Regions from separate parts of the Homo sapiens genome. Here regions 2 and 3 are each linked to region 1. The links are contacts of gene promoters, found by promoter capture Hi-C in blood cells and fetal thymus (Javierre and others, 2016). All regions are on one chromosome and are shown on one strand. The core of a region is centred on a gene start or on the middle of the fragment in contact, and the rest is flanking DNA. Distances in the headings are between cores, read along the strand shown. Region 1 holds the start of TXNIP (thioredoxin interacting protein). Region 2 overlaps RNF115 (ring finger protein 115). Region 3 overlaps RNF115 (ring finger protein 115).

Region 1 (4,841 bases), core at 85-2,584:
AGTAGTCTACACACCCATATTTTCCTTTGAAGGATGTTCCCAGAGGCCTGTGTCAAGAAAATGAAAATTTTAAAACGCTCTCCAAGAACAGTAAGTGATCAAAGGAGGGCAAGATATTTTAGACAGAAAAGTTCAAAGATGCATTTAGCTGATATTTACCCCTGAGGAAGCTCAAAGCCGAACTTGTACTCATATTTGTTTCCAGGTCTCATGATCACCATCTCATTCTCACCTGAAGGGAAAGAAAATCGAGTAGCCATTAGGCTTGCTGTTACACTTAAAATGCATCTGTGTGATAAGGAATGCTTGGGTGGCATGCAAGGTATTGAAGTACCCCCAATTTCATCCCATATATATATTTTTTAATCCATCCCATATTGTTCTTAAAGAGAAATTCTGATGTATTTTGTCGGGCAGCAAGTTGCCAAGCCCTGCAATACTGAAAGATTCACCCAGGACAGTTCTCTACTAACATCTCAAATAGGAAGTAGACAAAGAATAAGCAACTTATGCACACATAAGACTTTAACTACCCGAGGCAACGCCCCTCAGGATCCCCTTTAGGACACAGCACCATAAAAAATTGTACAAATCACCCTTTTTTTTGGGGGGGGAGGAGAATGTCTGCAAATTAAAACAGAAAAAAGGAAGCAACAACACGTAATTCAAACCACTCAAACTGAGCAACTTAAAACATTTCGTACAGGTTTTGTGTATTCAATTCTCTTCTCTAATCAGCTTTCACCCTCCAACAATGAATTGGGCCGCTTACCTGTTGGCTGGTCTTCCAGAAGAAGCGTGTCTTCATAGCGCAGGTACTCCGAAGTCTGTTTGCACTGCTGGGATCCCTGCATCCAAAGCACTTTAGCCACTCCGCAAGCCAGGATCCTAACGGCTTTGACACGAGTAACTTCACACACCTCCACTATCACCCGGCCAGCCACCTTCTCGCCACTGCCGTACACCTTTTCAGGGTCGTTAAAGACCACCTCAAAAGACTTGATCTTCTTGAACATCACCATGATGGAACTGAGTTGGTTTTAAGAGTTAGAAATGACGGTGGAAGAAAAAAAAAGCTCCAAATCGAGGAAACCCCTTTGCAAAAAATTATTTCACTTTAAGGAATTAAGGTATTCTTAAGCAGTTTGAGCTTAAAAATAAAATAAGATTTAAACAAATGAATATTAACTACTAGGTTTTCGAAAAGGCGCCTAAAAAATATACGCCGCTGGTTACACTAAGCTAATTCAGAGAAAAAGCCTTCTTTCCCCCAATTGCTGGAGAAAAGATCCGATCTCCACAAGCACTCCTTTGGAGAAAAAGAGGGGTTAGTTTCAAGCAGGAGGCGGAAACGTCTCTATATAGTAGCCCGGGCCAGAAGAGCCACGCGAGCGCTGGCCCGGAGGCTCGTGCTGCCCTCGTGCACATCCCTCCCATTGGCTGCCCGGTCCTTGTTTACCAGGAGCCCGACCAATCAGTGAGATCGCTGTGGCGCGTGGACACGGTGTGCTCCTGGCTGGGAAAATGGTTGTTGCGCTCTGGAGCGGCGCAGGGAGGGGGGAAGGAGAGGAAGGAGAGGAAGGAGGGGAAGGAGGGGGCTGTTGAGCGTCTTCTCCCGGGTCCAGTGGAAGGAGGATCCCACTGACCCTAAAACCTAGCCAGGGCGACAGGCCATCGGAGGGCGGGTGTGGACGTTTCTGGTCTGAGAGCGGTGTTTTGAGGTAAAAGGAAAATGTGCTTATGAGGGAATTTCATGCCTAGTCTTAGCCAGTGCAGTTACTTTAGAGCCTGTCGTTATTCCTGGCTCATAAATAGCAAGTGTGTGAAAATCCCATAGCTCCAAGAATACTTTCAGGTTTGGGGCTGTGGAGCGCAGAATGCTTGGTGTTACTGTTCAGGAACAGCCCTTTGTCCTTCTCTTGCCCCGCATCCCTATTAAGTATAAAAAACACCACCGTCTCTGAGGGAAAGGAGAACTTTCAGGCCTCATTGTGTGTGTAGGACCGATGTCTTCTCCTTCCCGTTCCAATCCCTTGGGGCTAGGGCTGGGGGCTGCGTGCCTGTGCTGTTCGTCACCCACCCCCAGCTTGTACCCTCTCTTCTGTTCTCTCTGTTCTGTGGAACGGAAATAGGAGGGGCGTGTTTACATCCTGTTGCTTATCCTGTCATCTCTTCAATTTCTACCTGCAAAGTTGGGGAACACTTTGTCTGTGTTCCCCATTTACCTCATTACCTCTTTAGTGAGGTGTGTCCAGGCGCTCATTATCTCCCACTTCCTACCTGCTTCTGGAGGAAAAGGAAAAGCGGGAAAAAAAGGATGCTTCACTCTTTTCACTTTTTTCCAGTTATGTTCACTCTTTCTTGTCTCCATCCCCTCTTCCAACTCACTAAATCAAATGTACATCCATAAATCTGGTTAAAAGTGAGAAAGTCCTCTTGTTTATATCCAAATTTTCAGTGGAGAGATGGCCACACACCTGTTTGAAGGAACAATTTTAAAAACTATTTTCAAAGGTTTTTCCCTAAACGGTTTAGAAAACAGTAAGAAGGAAAAGAGAAGAAAGATCGGTCAACAGAGCACTATAAATTCAAGCCAGAAGAGACCCTACCCTCTCTCTTCATTCTTTGTTGGTTTCGTTTGGCCAGCTGTCAGATGGATTTTCCCCTGCTGGCTGTGAGATGCTTTAGGAGCTGAGTACTGAGAACTTACTCTTAAATGTAATAGGAAAAACCTGTATGCAAAAGTGCAGGGATTCTTCCTCCTTTTATTTGATTCATAGACCCTTCCTATATCTGTGCTGGGGTATCAGAAGATTATTATTTAATTCCTTGTGCTGGAAAGAGGAAGATAATGTCCCAAGATTGAGATGGGGAGGTAATTAAGAAGCATTCAAGTATATTGAAACCCTACCCAATCAGCAAAAAAAAAACAATATTCATTGCTGTTAAAGAGCCTTCTTCCTTCCTCAGACAGCCTAGCTGGATTGACACTCTAAGGCTAACGAGAGTTACAACTCAACCCCAATATTAAGCAAGCTCAAGAATAGGCATCATGAGTCTCTTCGAAAACACACACATGCATTAAACCCCAGGAACATGTTGATCCTTAGGGTGTGTTTGAGGCGGCACCCTGTTCTAGAAACTTAACCAGCTAGGCTTGAGGTGTTTTCAGTTGGTTAACAATATTGATTGAGTTACTGGGAGCAGAGGAGGTGGAACTCTGACTGAAGTAATTTTTTTTTTAAGGTGGAATCTTGCTCTGTTGCCTAGGCTGGAGTGCAGTGGCCTGACCCCAGCTCACTGCAACCTCTGCCTCCTGGGTTAGAGCGATTCTCCGCCTCAGCCTCCTGAGTACCTGGCATTACAGGCATGCATCACCACGCCCAGCTAATTTTTGTATTTTTAGTAGAGATGGGGTTTCACCATGTTGCCCAAGATGGTCTTGAACTCCTCCTGACCTCAGGTGATCCACCCGCCTTGGCCTCCCAAAGTGCTGGGATTACAGGCGTGAGCCACCGTGCCTGGCCTGACTGAAGTAATTTTAAAAGTTCAAAATTGTGGCTTCTGGGAGAACGTTTAGTTTGATGGGTATGAAAGTGTAACTATCAAACATCAAAATGCTGACAAATATATGAATCAATATTGTTAACTACATAGTCAATATTGTTAAATATTGTTAAATCTTAACTACATACATTTTGAGGGAATAGGAAAGATGGTGGCTAGTGATGGATCAGGGTGGTGGTAATATGGGACATCTTAAGACATCCAACTCTCAACCAGGTTGGAATGCAGTGTCACTTGGCTCACTGAAACCTCCACATCCCAGGCTCAAGTGATTCTCCCACCTCAGCCTCCCGAGTAGCCGGGACTACAGATGTGCTCCACCACGCCTAGGTAATTTTTGTATTTTTGGTAGAGATGGGGTTTCACCATGTTGGCCAGGCTGGTCTCAAACTCCTGCTCAAGCAGTCCGCCTACCTGGCCTCCCAAAGTGCTGGGATTATAGGCACCCTTTTCCCTTTCAATTTATTTGATATTTATGTGGGCACATCTCTGAAGTACTGAATTGCTGAGTTTTAAAAAATCCTATGACAATTCTCTCGTTCTAAGTTTCTCTTCTGGGCTCTGGTTTCCTTGTATCTTCCCATTTGCAGAGCTCACTACAGACTACGTTGCTCTGTGTTATGCCTGGGTTCCTTTAAATGCCAAAAAATTATTTAGCTTTGGCAGCAGCTGCTGCCTACCAGGCCTGTAGCCAAGGCATGTTCTGAAGTGGAGTCCTCCTGGACACGGTTGTTTACGACCTTTCACCTTGTAACCTGGTATTCTGATAAAAACCTGCCCCGATTCTCCTTTCCCAGTTCTTGGGTCTAAGAAGAAAGAAATTTTGTAAACTCTTGTCCTAAAATCAGGGTATAAAAACACTTGTGAGGTTTGGGAAAAGGGGTGGGCCAAGGAGGAACAGCAAAGTAGGGCACAGTCAAAGAGTTTTGCAAGTTGGATCATCTTTATCTGCCCCTTCTCTACCCTCTTCAGTCCCAGTGCCAACAGGAAACCAAGTGGTGATTGTTGTTTGTTTGCTTTACTGCAGGTGACAGAATAAAGCCAGCAGTTTCAGGGAGGGAAGTGCCCTCAGCACTTTGTTGCCAGTCAGAGACAAGACACTGATTGCATTTCTCTTTTCTTTAACCTCTGGCCTGACAAACATTTAGAACATGAAGACTCATAGTTCTTAATGCAGAACAAAGCCCTTTCTTGGTCCTTTTAATCACTTCTCTCACCTCTACTCTGTAAACTTCCCTTTTACCCTTACCCATTTTCCTTTCTCTCTCTCTTTT
Region 2 (5,085 bases), core at 2,091-4,590, 190 kb before region 1:
CGCCCAGCTAATTTTTATATTTTTTGTAGAGACGGAGTTTTGCCATGTTGCCCAAGCTAGTCTCGAACTCCTGAGCTCAAGCAATCCTCTCATGTTAGCCTCCCAAAGTGCTGGGATTACAGGCGTGAGCCACCACGCCCAGCCGAGTCATTTCTATCATCCCATCTGTAAAAGAAAAGCATAACAAAAAACCTAAGTTACTTACCTAGAATCACTGGAAACAGGAACCCAACTGTTTCCACCAAACTAAGCTGCTTTCCCCCTAGGCTCTAAAAGATTACTGTAAACAACTCTAGTGAAGATACTCAGTGGCAGGTTCTGAATCGAGAACAACTCCCTAAGCATAGCTTAGCCCTGATGCTTACCCACTTAAAAGAACAGCCCAAGAGGACACAAAGCACTAGAAATATAGGAAGGAAAGGAAAAGGGTGGTTTTAATGCATTATTTCTTTTGCCTCCCGTATTTCAAAGGATTAGTTATCACAATACGTGACACCTTAGAGGACAAGGAGCTACAAATTCAGACCTATTTATATCAGGTCACATAATGTGAAATTTAAATACTCTTGAAACCTATACAAGTTTGTATCCAATACTTATTCAGTACATCAAATGTAATATAAAGACTTACTACTTTTTTCCTAATTTCACAGCTATGTTTTTCTACCTCTTCGTTATCAACTTAAAGTGTTTATTTTATCTAAAACAGAAGTTCCAATGGTGATTAAAGTGTCAAAAAAAAGAAGCCCATTTTCTGTCTAGTCTGACAGCCACAATTTTAAGTTAGTCACATTCTATTGTTTATACTCTCTTTGAGTATCACATGGCAAGACAGTCAGAAATTTCTAATTAGAAGGATTAAGAACACAAAATGTTTGCCACACATCACAGCTCCTAGGCCAGTACCCACTATACTTTTACTCTGATGCTAAGTCTCGTCACTAGGTCAAAGAGACTGGTTCCCTTTTCAAGCCAGGTTATACATCCTCCTCCCTTTTCAAAAGCATCAAGTGAACCCCAAAACAAAGACAACAGAACTTCTGAGTTCTGTTCCCAGTTCCACCATTATCCTCAAGGTCTCTGTGAAAATCTCTTTCTAGAGTACAAATACTGTCCTCACTGACTTCTTTCTCTCAACTCTCCTTCAAGAAATTAAGGAAGACATACCTCTCATTCATTACAAGAAAGAGAAAGTTTCCAGTCTAAACATTTTGAAATTAGTTCTCTGAGCTCAAGGAGTTGTAAGCAATTGTTCACTTGGCTATTAATAAAGAAAATCAGTTTACTAAAAAGGAAAACAATAGGCCACAGTTTCAGTGTTACACAAGGATACCTATACAATTTAAATACTGTTTGAAGGGCTGTGATTCAGTTCCAGGCCAATAAAACTACCTTGATTTATGGTTTCATCCCCCTAAGAATAGTAACATTCACATTCACAACCTTTATTTATTTATTTATTTTGAGACTGAGTCTCACTCTGTTGCCCAGGCTGGAATGCAGTGGCGTGATCTTGGCTCACTGCAAACTCTGCCTCCCAGGCTGAAGCAATTCTCCCACCTCAGCTTCCCAGTAGGTGGGAATACAGGTGCCCGCCATTATGCCCAGCTAATTTTTGTATTTTTAGTAGAGATGGGTTTCACCACATTGGCCAGGCTGGTGTTGAACTCCTGACCTCAAGTGATCCACCTGCCTCAGCCTCCCAAAGTGCTGGGATTAGAGGCGTGAGCCACCGCACCCAGCCACCTTTATCATTTTGTTCCTTAATTCAGGCCATGATTGAACACTGACATTACAGATTCCAAACAGGAGTGCATAATCAACCAAGCTTCTTTAGCTCATTGTGTACCAAGGCAGAAAATCAGGTCACAAGACAAAGTGTTACTTGATACAAGCTTGATCAGATGGTCAAGAAGCCAAATTTTCTAAGGAAGAAACACACAGGACTACAAGAATTACCAGAGAAAATGTTAATTAACCTCAGACAACATAATATAGCAGAAAAGATTTATAGTGTTTTTGGCTTGCTCACACTAAAGGCAGCAAGAAAGGGAACAACCCAGTGGCATAAATATAAAATGATAAATGAGCCAAAAAGTATAGATGTTTAGCTCTGATGTGTACCACAATAGTTTAGAAGTAAAATGTACTTTCTTGCTTTTAGCTTAGGCTGACAGAATCTTCTTTGACAAAGTGACAACATTCATTCACTCAGCAAAAATTCTAAGCTCTACATTCCAAGCATTGTGTAGAAAGAAAAATAACCTGGGATTAAAAGTCACTAAAATCACCTACAAAGTATATGCTCTGATAAAATCATACTTCCCTTAACCATATTCTAGTAGTTAGGGAAGTCAAAAGGCATATAAAATGAACTTCTGAATATCCTAGTCTTAGGTACTTAGCCTCGAAATGAGAACTAAGCAATGCTTCAGAACAGCCTAAGTGGTTAGAGTAATGAATGTGAAGCAAAACAAAGCTGGACTGGTAATCATTTCAACTATGTATGTGCACTTCAAAACATCATGTTGTCCACCTTAAATGCATGCATGCATGCACACACACACACACACACACACACACACACACAATCAGACTGGAAACACAGAATAACCAACCAGTTGTGTGACACTGGGTAGCTCACTTCATCTAAATGAGATAGTACCGGGAATATACTAAATTCTCAACAAACTGTAGGTTCTAATAAATTATTCTGAGTGATTTGGATATGGAATATTTCTCAAACCACGTTTCACAGGATATTAACCAGTGGTTAAGGTGGGGAGAAAAACTAGATTTAGAAAAGCCTGAACTAAATATCAAACATGCTGCTTTAATGAATGATTTTTCAGAACCATTAATATGCCATTCCATGTCATAAAAGGGGAAGTGGAGGGATGGAGATAGGGCAACAATTTGGTATGCAATATTTTACCATAATTCTGAACTCCTATTAAATCTCCTGGCACACAGTTTGAGAAACACTGATCTAGACTACTGATTTCCATACTTTTGGTTCCCATAAAGCAGTTCAATTTTCAAATTAAAAAATTGGAAACCTGCAAGGATTGCCAGCTTTTTTATTTTGCCAAGTATAAATATTAAAAAAAAAACCATCTACCATCACCATTTCATTTTAAAAAGTACTATTTTACCATGTACCCACAGAGCAATCAGAGCTTCTGACTGAGAACTCTTCATCGAAATAAAAGTAATACTTGGAATTCTAGCATTGACTTGCCATCAATGACATAGGAGAATTTCACAAGTATGATCTAATTCAACTCACAGCAGGAACATTCAAGTCAGGAAAGATCACATACAAACTGGTTGTTAACAGTAGCCACTGACCATTGGATTAAGAAAACAATTAATTAACTGAATACAACTTTAAAAACAAAAGCAATGTAAATGCAACCTCAAAGCAAACAAAGAATATTTATAAAATAGTTCTAAAAAAAAAATTATCCAGGCCAAGTTTACCTGTTACTGAATCCCAAGTCTTCAAAAAAAAAAAAAATGAAGTTTTAATTTATTCAGTCAACATTACCAGCATTATTGCTTTGTTTGATTTATAAAAGGAAAATTTTGACATTGCTTTGCATTATGTCCTCCATCCTAACATTTTCAAGACTGTTCATCATTATAAGATAAAATATGCACTAATAGTTTGTAACTCATAAAGGAGATTATTTCAGGGGTAAAATTTAAATCCTAGTATGTCAGTGGCTACCACATGATCTATGTGGAAAAACTACAGAAGAAAATTCCCTTACACAAAATCCAAAAATACCCCAGAGCTCAAATCACTAAACCGTAGCTAGCAGGAATAAACACAACTATCTCATTTTACAGACAAGGAAAATGAAGACCCTGAAAGGTTCAATAATTTAACAGCTAAAATAAAACATTTTTTCCCACAGTACTAGAATACAATTTATATATAATTAATTAAAATAAATAAAATCAGCTATAAAAAGGGCTGACAACAGTTGCAAAATGAGGGCTAGTTGTTAGTTCTTACAACAACAATATCTCAGACCTGAAATGGGCAAAAAGGCATTTGCTCTAATCCAGAGATAGCTACATTAATTTAATGTTTAAATGAGATATTAAATTTAAGTCCAGGCACAGTGGCTCACGACTATAATCCCAGCACTTTGGGAAGCTGAGGCGGGTGGATCACTTGAGGTCAGGTGTTCAAGACCAGCCTGGCCAACAGGGTGAAACCCCGTCTCTACTAAAAATACAAAAATTAGCTGGGCATTGTGGCCCACACCTGTAATCCCAGCTGCTCAGGAAGCTGAAGCAGGAGAATCGCTTGAACCCGGGAGGCAGAGGTTTCAGTGAGCTGAGATCGTGCCACTGCACTCCAGCCTGGGCAACAGAGGAAGACTCCATCTCAAAAAAATAAAATAGATAAATAAATAAATAAATATTAAATTTAAAGAAAGCCAAAAGGAGAAGAAAATATTTAAATCCTGATTTTACTACCCATTTTTCTCAACATTTTATTAATCTCCGTACTTCTTCCTGAATATAGCTGATATAGTTTGGATATGTGTCCCCTCTAAATCTCATGTTGAAATTTGATCCCCAATGTTGGAGGTAGGGCCTAGTGGGAGGTATTTAGGTCATGGACGCAGATCCCTCATGAATGTCTTGGTGCAGTCCTTACAGGAATGAGTGATGTGGTTGTTTAAAAGAGTGTGGTACCCCTCCCCTTTCTCTCTTGCCTTGCGGAACACCTGCTTCCCCTTGGCCTTCCACTATGACTGGAAGCTTCCTGAGGTCCCACCAGAAGCAGATGCTGGTGCGAAGCTTCTTGTACTGTCTGCAGAGTAATGAGCTAAGTAAACTTCTTTTGTTTATTTTTTGTTGAGACAGAGTCTTTTTCTGTCGCCCAGGCTGGAGTGCAGTGGCAGGATCTCGGCTCACTGCAACCTCCACCTCCTGGGTTCAAGAATTCTCCTGCCTCAGCCTCCTGAGCAGCTGGGATTACAGGTACGCGCCACTGCGCCCAGCCGTAAACCTCTTTTAAGTTACCCAGCTTCAGTTATTCCTTTATAAGCAACACAAAATGGA
Region 3 (4,636 bases), core at 1,755-4,254, 210 kb before region 1:
ACCCAGGCTGGGGTGCAGTGGCACGAGCTCAGCTCACTGCAACCTCTGCCTCCCAGGCTCAAGAGATTCTCCCACCTCCGCTTCTCGAGTAGCTGGGACTACACACATATGCCACTACACCTGGCTTTTTATTTTTATTTTTGTAGACACAGGGTTTTACCATGTTGCCCAGGCTGGTCTTGAACTCCTGGGCTCAAACAATCCGCCTGCCTCCGCCCTCCCAAAGTGCTAGGATTACAGGCATGAGCCACCACGTCCAGCTATAATTCTAATAACTATAGAGAGACAAGTAAAAGGTTTATGACATAATACCAAGTAAATTTTTAGAGGCAGAAATACAATATACTCTTATGACAGCAACTCTAAACAGTTATGAGGTATGCACATGAGAAATGAGAAGTATTTTGCTAAAAAATGCATAAAGCTATAATCAAGTAATGACAATATGGGATATTTCTTTATTTTTTGAAACGGAGTCTCGCTCTGTTGCTCAGGCTAGAGTGCAGTGGCACAATCTCAGCCCACTGCAACCTCCGCCTCCTGGGTTCAAGCGATTCTCCTGCCTCAGCCTCCCGAATAGCTGGGATTACAGGTGCCCGCCACCACACCTGGCTAATTTTTGTATTTTTAGTAAAGACAGGGTTTCATCACATTGGACAGGCTGGTCTGGAACTCCTGACCTCAAGTGATCTGCATGCCCGGCCAATATTTCTCATTTTTAAAAAAGCTTAGGCCCAGGCACGGTGACTCAAGCCCGTAATCCCAGCACTCTGGGAGGCCAAGACGAGAGGATGACCTGAGGTCAGGAGTTCCAGACCAGCCTGGCCAACGTGGTAAAACCCCATCTCTACCAAAAATACAAAAATTAGCCAGGTTTGGCGGCGGGGGCCTGTAATCCAAGCTACTCGGGAGGCTGAGGTGAGAGAATCACTAGAACCCAGGAGGCAGAGGTTGCAGTAAGCCGAGATCGTGCCATTGCACTCCAGCCTGGGCAACAGAGCGAGACCCCGTCTCAAAAAAACAAACAAAAAAGAGCTTAAGGTTGTTATTTTTCAGTAACTATGCCTTAGGACAAAATCTGAAAGGAAATGTATGGAAAAGGGAGCTCTTAGAATAGTGAAACTCGGCCGGGCGCAGTGGCTCACACCTGTAATCCCAGCACTTTGGGAGACCAAGGCGGGCAGATCACGAGGTCAGGAGATCGAGACCATCCTGGCTAACACGGTGAAACCCCGTCTCTACTAAAAATATAAAAAATTAGCCAGGCGTGGTGGCACGCGCCTGTGGTCCCAGCTACTCAGGAGGCTGAGGCAGGATAATCGCTTGAACCCAGAAGGCGGAGGTTGCAGTGAGCCGAGATTGCGCCACTGCACCCCAGCCTGGGCAACAGAGTGAGACTCCGTCTAAAAAAAAAAAAAAAAAAAAAAAAGTGAAACTCAAGATACATATTTTTAAATTTTTTACTGCCACTATAATGCTGCTTATGTAACAAAAACAAATAACAAATTTTATTTAAATACATATAAATCAGCTCAGAGCACCCTGCCCTCTTGTGCATACCTGAGAGCTCTTTTTTCCAGAAAGCCATGTATCTTATTTTCTCCCAATCTGAGGCAGCAGCCAGAGCCACTCTTGCACTGAAGCAATCCATTCAGGTAAGCTGAGACTCTAAGATCAGATGACCCACTGGCACCAGGTCGTGGTCAGAAGTTTGCAAGTAATCAATGAAACCTTCAGGTAGCTATGGGGCTCACTTTCTAGATTACCACCAGGAAGCTTAGTATAGCAATGTCTTCTCTCTACAAACTGCTAGCAATATTTTCAGATTCACTCTCCACCGGCCCTCACACATTATTCAAACACTGCTCCCATGTAACTGGCAACCCTCCCCTACCTTCTCTCTATCCCATTAGTCTCTTATCTCCTACCCCAGTCTCATTTTTTTAAAAAAAAGTCAATACTGATTTTGACAGAAATTTTCTTGGAATAAGCCTCTTCTAATATAGACAGTATTTTAAGAATTCAGCTATCAGTAAATGTTACTTATAGAAAATAACCACTTCATTGTACAAGCAGCTCCAGCTAAAGAAAAATAGAGCAAAACTGAGCATAAGTCTTTGCCGAAATTACCAACTAAAGCAGGGAAAAGAAAAACAACTTTAGTTTCTATATATAATTTTATTTCTAAGTTTTTTCTTCAGGGACATGAGCATAAAACCTTATAGCTTATGAATACTATTTTGAGATAATTTTCACATCTTTGCTTATCTAAATTCCACCTACTCTTCAAGGCTCCAGTGCAAGTTCTAACTTCACTATGAAGTCTTAATAATGGCTAAAATGTATCAAGCACTCACTAGATGGTAGGCACATTGCGGTCTACACACCTAGCATGTATTAACTCATTTAATCCTCGTAACATCCCTATGAGGGAAGGATGATTATTTCCCAATTTACAGACAAGGACAAGAGAGGCACTGAGAGATTCTAAGTAACTTTGCCCAGATTACACAGCCAATAAGTGGCAGACACAGGATTTGAGCTCAGGCAATCTGGTTCCAGAGGCTGTGTTCTTAATCACTGTTATATGACCTCTCCTCAAGACCCTGGCCCACCTTAACTCTTCCTTCTACTATACTTGTTACATATACCCCAGAATAAATTTATTATACTCTGTACACTTTTCCTTTTTTTTTTTTTTTTTGGAGATAAGAGTTTCACTCTTATTGCCCAGGCTGGAGTCCAGTGGTGCAATCTCCGCTCACTGCAACCTCCGCCTTCTGGGTTCAAGCAATTCTCCTGCCTCAGCCTCCCAAGTAGCTGGAATTACAGGCGCCCACCACCATGCCTGGCTAATTTTTTGTATTTTTTAGTAGAGATGGGGTTTCACCATGTTGGCCAGGCTGGTCTTGAACTCCCAACCTCCCGTGATCCACCTGCCTCGGCCTCCCAAAGTGCTGGGATTACAAGCGTAAGCCACCACGCCCAGCCTTCCTTGTTTTCTTAAGTGTTTGCACTTGCTCCACAACAAAATTAAGTTCCTTTCAGGCAAGGCAACCATGACATTTACTTCCTGCCCCTATTTCTAGGAGAGTGCTATGTATGAAACATTCAGTATATACTTTCAGCCAGGCACAGTGACACCTGCCTGTAATCCCAGCTACTAGGGAACCTGAGGTGGGAGGATCACTTAAGCTCAGAAGTTCGAGTCCAGCCTGGGCAATAAGGCCCCATCTCTTAAAAACACACACACACACACTTCTTAGCTAATTTATTAAAAATCCCTGGCAACATCTAAAGAACACGAAGTTACAAGCTATGAATCAGCAAAAATACTTTAACACCTGAAGGATAACTCATGCCATCAGTGTTGGATTTAGCATTACTAAAGTTAGGAAACTGACTACATATATTTGTTTTTCTTCTTACTCAATGCATCTCTTTCTGGTGAGTCATACCTACAAAATTGGCAGACCGATCTATTTCCATTACCTAAAAGAGAACACTAAAGAAAAATCAAATGAAATTTCTTCTTCTGCATATGCCTAATCAGTAAGTGACAATCTGTGTTATCACAAATAGCACACACAAGAGGAAAGAATACTGAAATCATAAAGGCTTCCAGGACTGGCAAACAGAATACATTTTATTGTATTTTACTTTTTTGAGATGGAGTCTCGCTCTGTCACCCAGGCTGGAGTGCAGTAGTGCGATCTCGACTCACCTCAACCTCTGCCTCCCGGGTTCAAGCGATTCTCGTGTCTCAGCCTACCATGTAGCTAGGATTACAGGCTCATGCCACCATGCCCAGCTAATTTATTGTATTTTTAGTAGAGATGGGGTTTCACCATGTTGGCTAGGCTGGTCTCGAACTCCAGACCTCAGGTGATCTGCTCACCTCGGCCTCCCAAAGTGTTGCGATTACAGGCGTGAGCCACTGTGCCTGGCCCAGAACACATATTAAATAATGTTTTTCAATCCATTAAAATGGGAAAATAAAAATGCAAGTTCAAAACACGATCTGTCTGGAATCACTCTAATCAACCCGGGCAGTTCAGAGTTAACCAAAACTCTTAATACTGTATATTAAGAAGTAGCACAGACCATAAGCAGAAAAACCACCCTAAATAGAACAGGACCATTACCCAGACAATGTTGATAAATCTAACAACATCAAAATGTGGGGGCTACAGGTCTTAAAATAATTTTCAAATAATAAGGGAGAGAAGCTTAGGGTTTTACAGGCTTCTTATTAAATATCACTTTTCAAATATACTACTAGTACAATTTCAATTTACATACAAAACAGTGAAATATTTTGCTATCTCTCTAGGCACTTCGGCTATCTCTGGAAAAGGCTAATGTGATCCTAAAACATAAAGAAATCCTGATTATGGGATTTAACTTATTTCTTCCTTTTAGCATCTGTCAGCTTTCTAGAGCTGAACAAGTTGTATGGCAATATAGGGTACACATACAAACAAGCAAAAGAAAAACGTCAGTGTTTTTTATAGGCTGACTGGTACCTTCTGGGTTGTAGTCTCTAAATGATTAAAAACAAAGAGTATTAATGCCACTGAATTATACACTTAAGAACAGTTACAATGGTTTCTTTTTTTAAAAAAAAAAAACACAA

The links. The method cuts DNA at HindIII sites, captures the fragments that hold promoters and counts their contacts. A CHiCAGO score of 5 or more calls a contact.
Region 2: a contact is called between a fragment that was not itself captured here and the fragment with the promoter of TXNIP in region 1, in 3 of 17 cell types (naive CD4 T cells, endothelial precursors and erythroblasts). The highest score is 5.3, in naive CD4 T cells.
Region 3: a contact is called between a fragment that was not itself captured here and the fragment with the promoter of TXNIP in region 1, in 3 of 17 cell types (endothelial precursors, naive CD4 T cells and activated CD4 T cells). The highest score is 5.8, in endothelial precursors.

Annotation. Positions count from the first base shown.
Region 1 is chr1:145,995,245-146,000,085 of GRCh38, forward strand. TXNIP (thioredoxin interacting protein) reads right to left here and starts at 1,335. Exons shown (of 8, transcript NM_006472.6): 1 at 773-1,335; 2 at 160-232; 3 at 1-47. The coding sequence starts at 1,022. The HindIII fragment of the contact is 13,533 bases long and covers 1-4,841 here.
Region 2 is chr1:145,801,944-145,807,028 of GRCh38, forward strand. All of the region lies in intron 1 of RNF115 (ring finger protein 115), which reads right to left. Among named protein-coding and RNA genes, the nearest start is that of RNF115, 20 kb to the right of the region's middle. RefSeq lists an enhancer at 3,041-3,549. The HindIII fragment of the contact is 2,887 bases long and covers 1,898-4,784 here.
Region 3 is chr1:145,779,214-145,783,849 of GRCh38, forward strand. All of the region lies in intron 3 of RNF115 (ring finger protein 115), which reads right to left. Among named protein-coding and RNA genes, the nearest start is that of RNF115, 43 kb to the right of the region's middle. The HindIII fragment of the contact is 2,453 bases long and covers 1,779-4,231 here.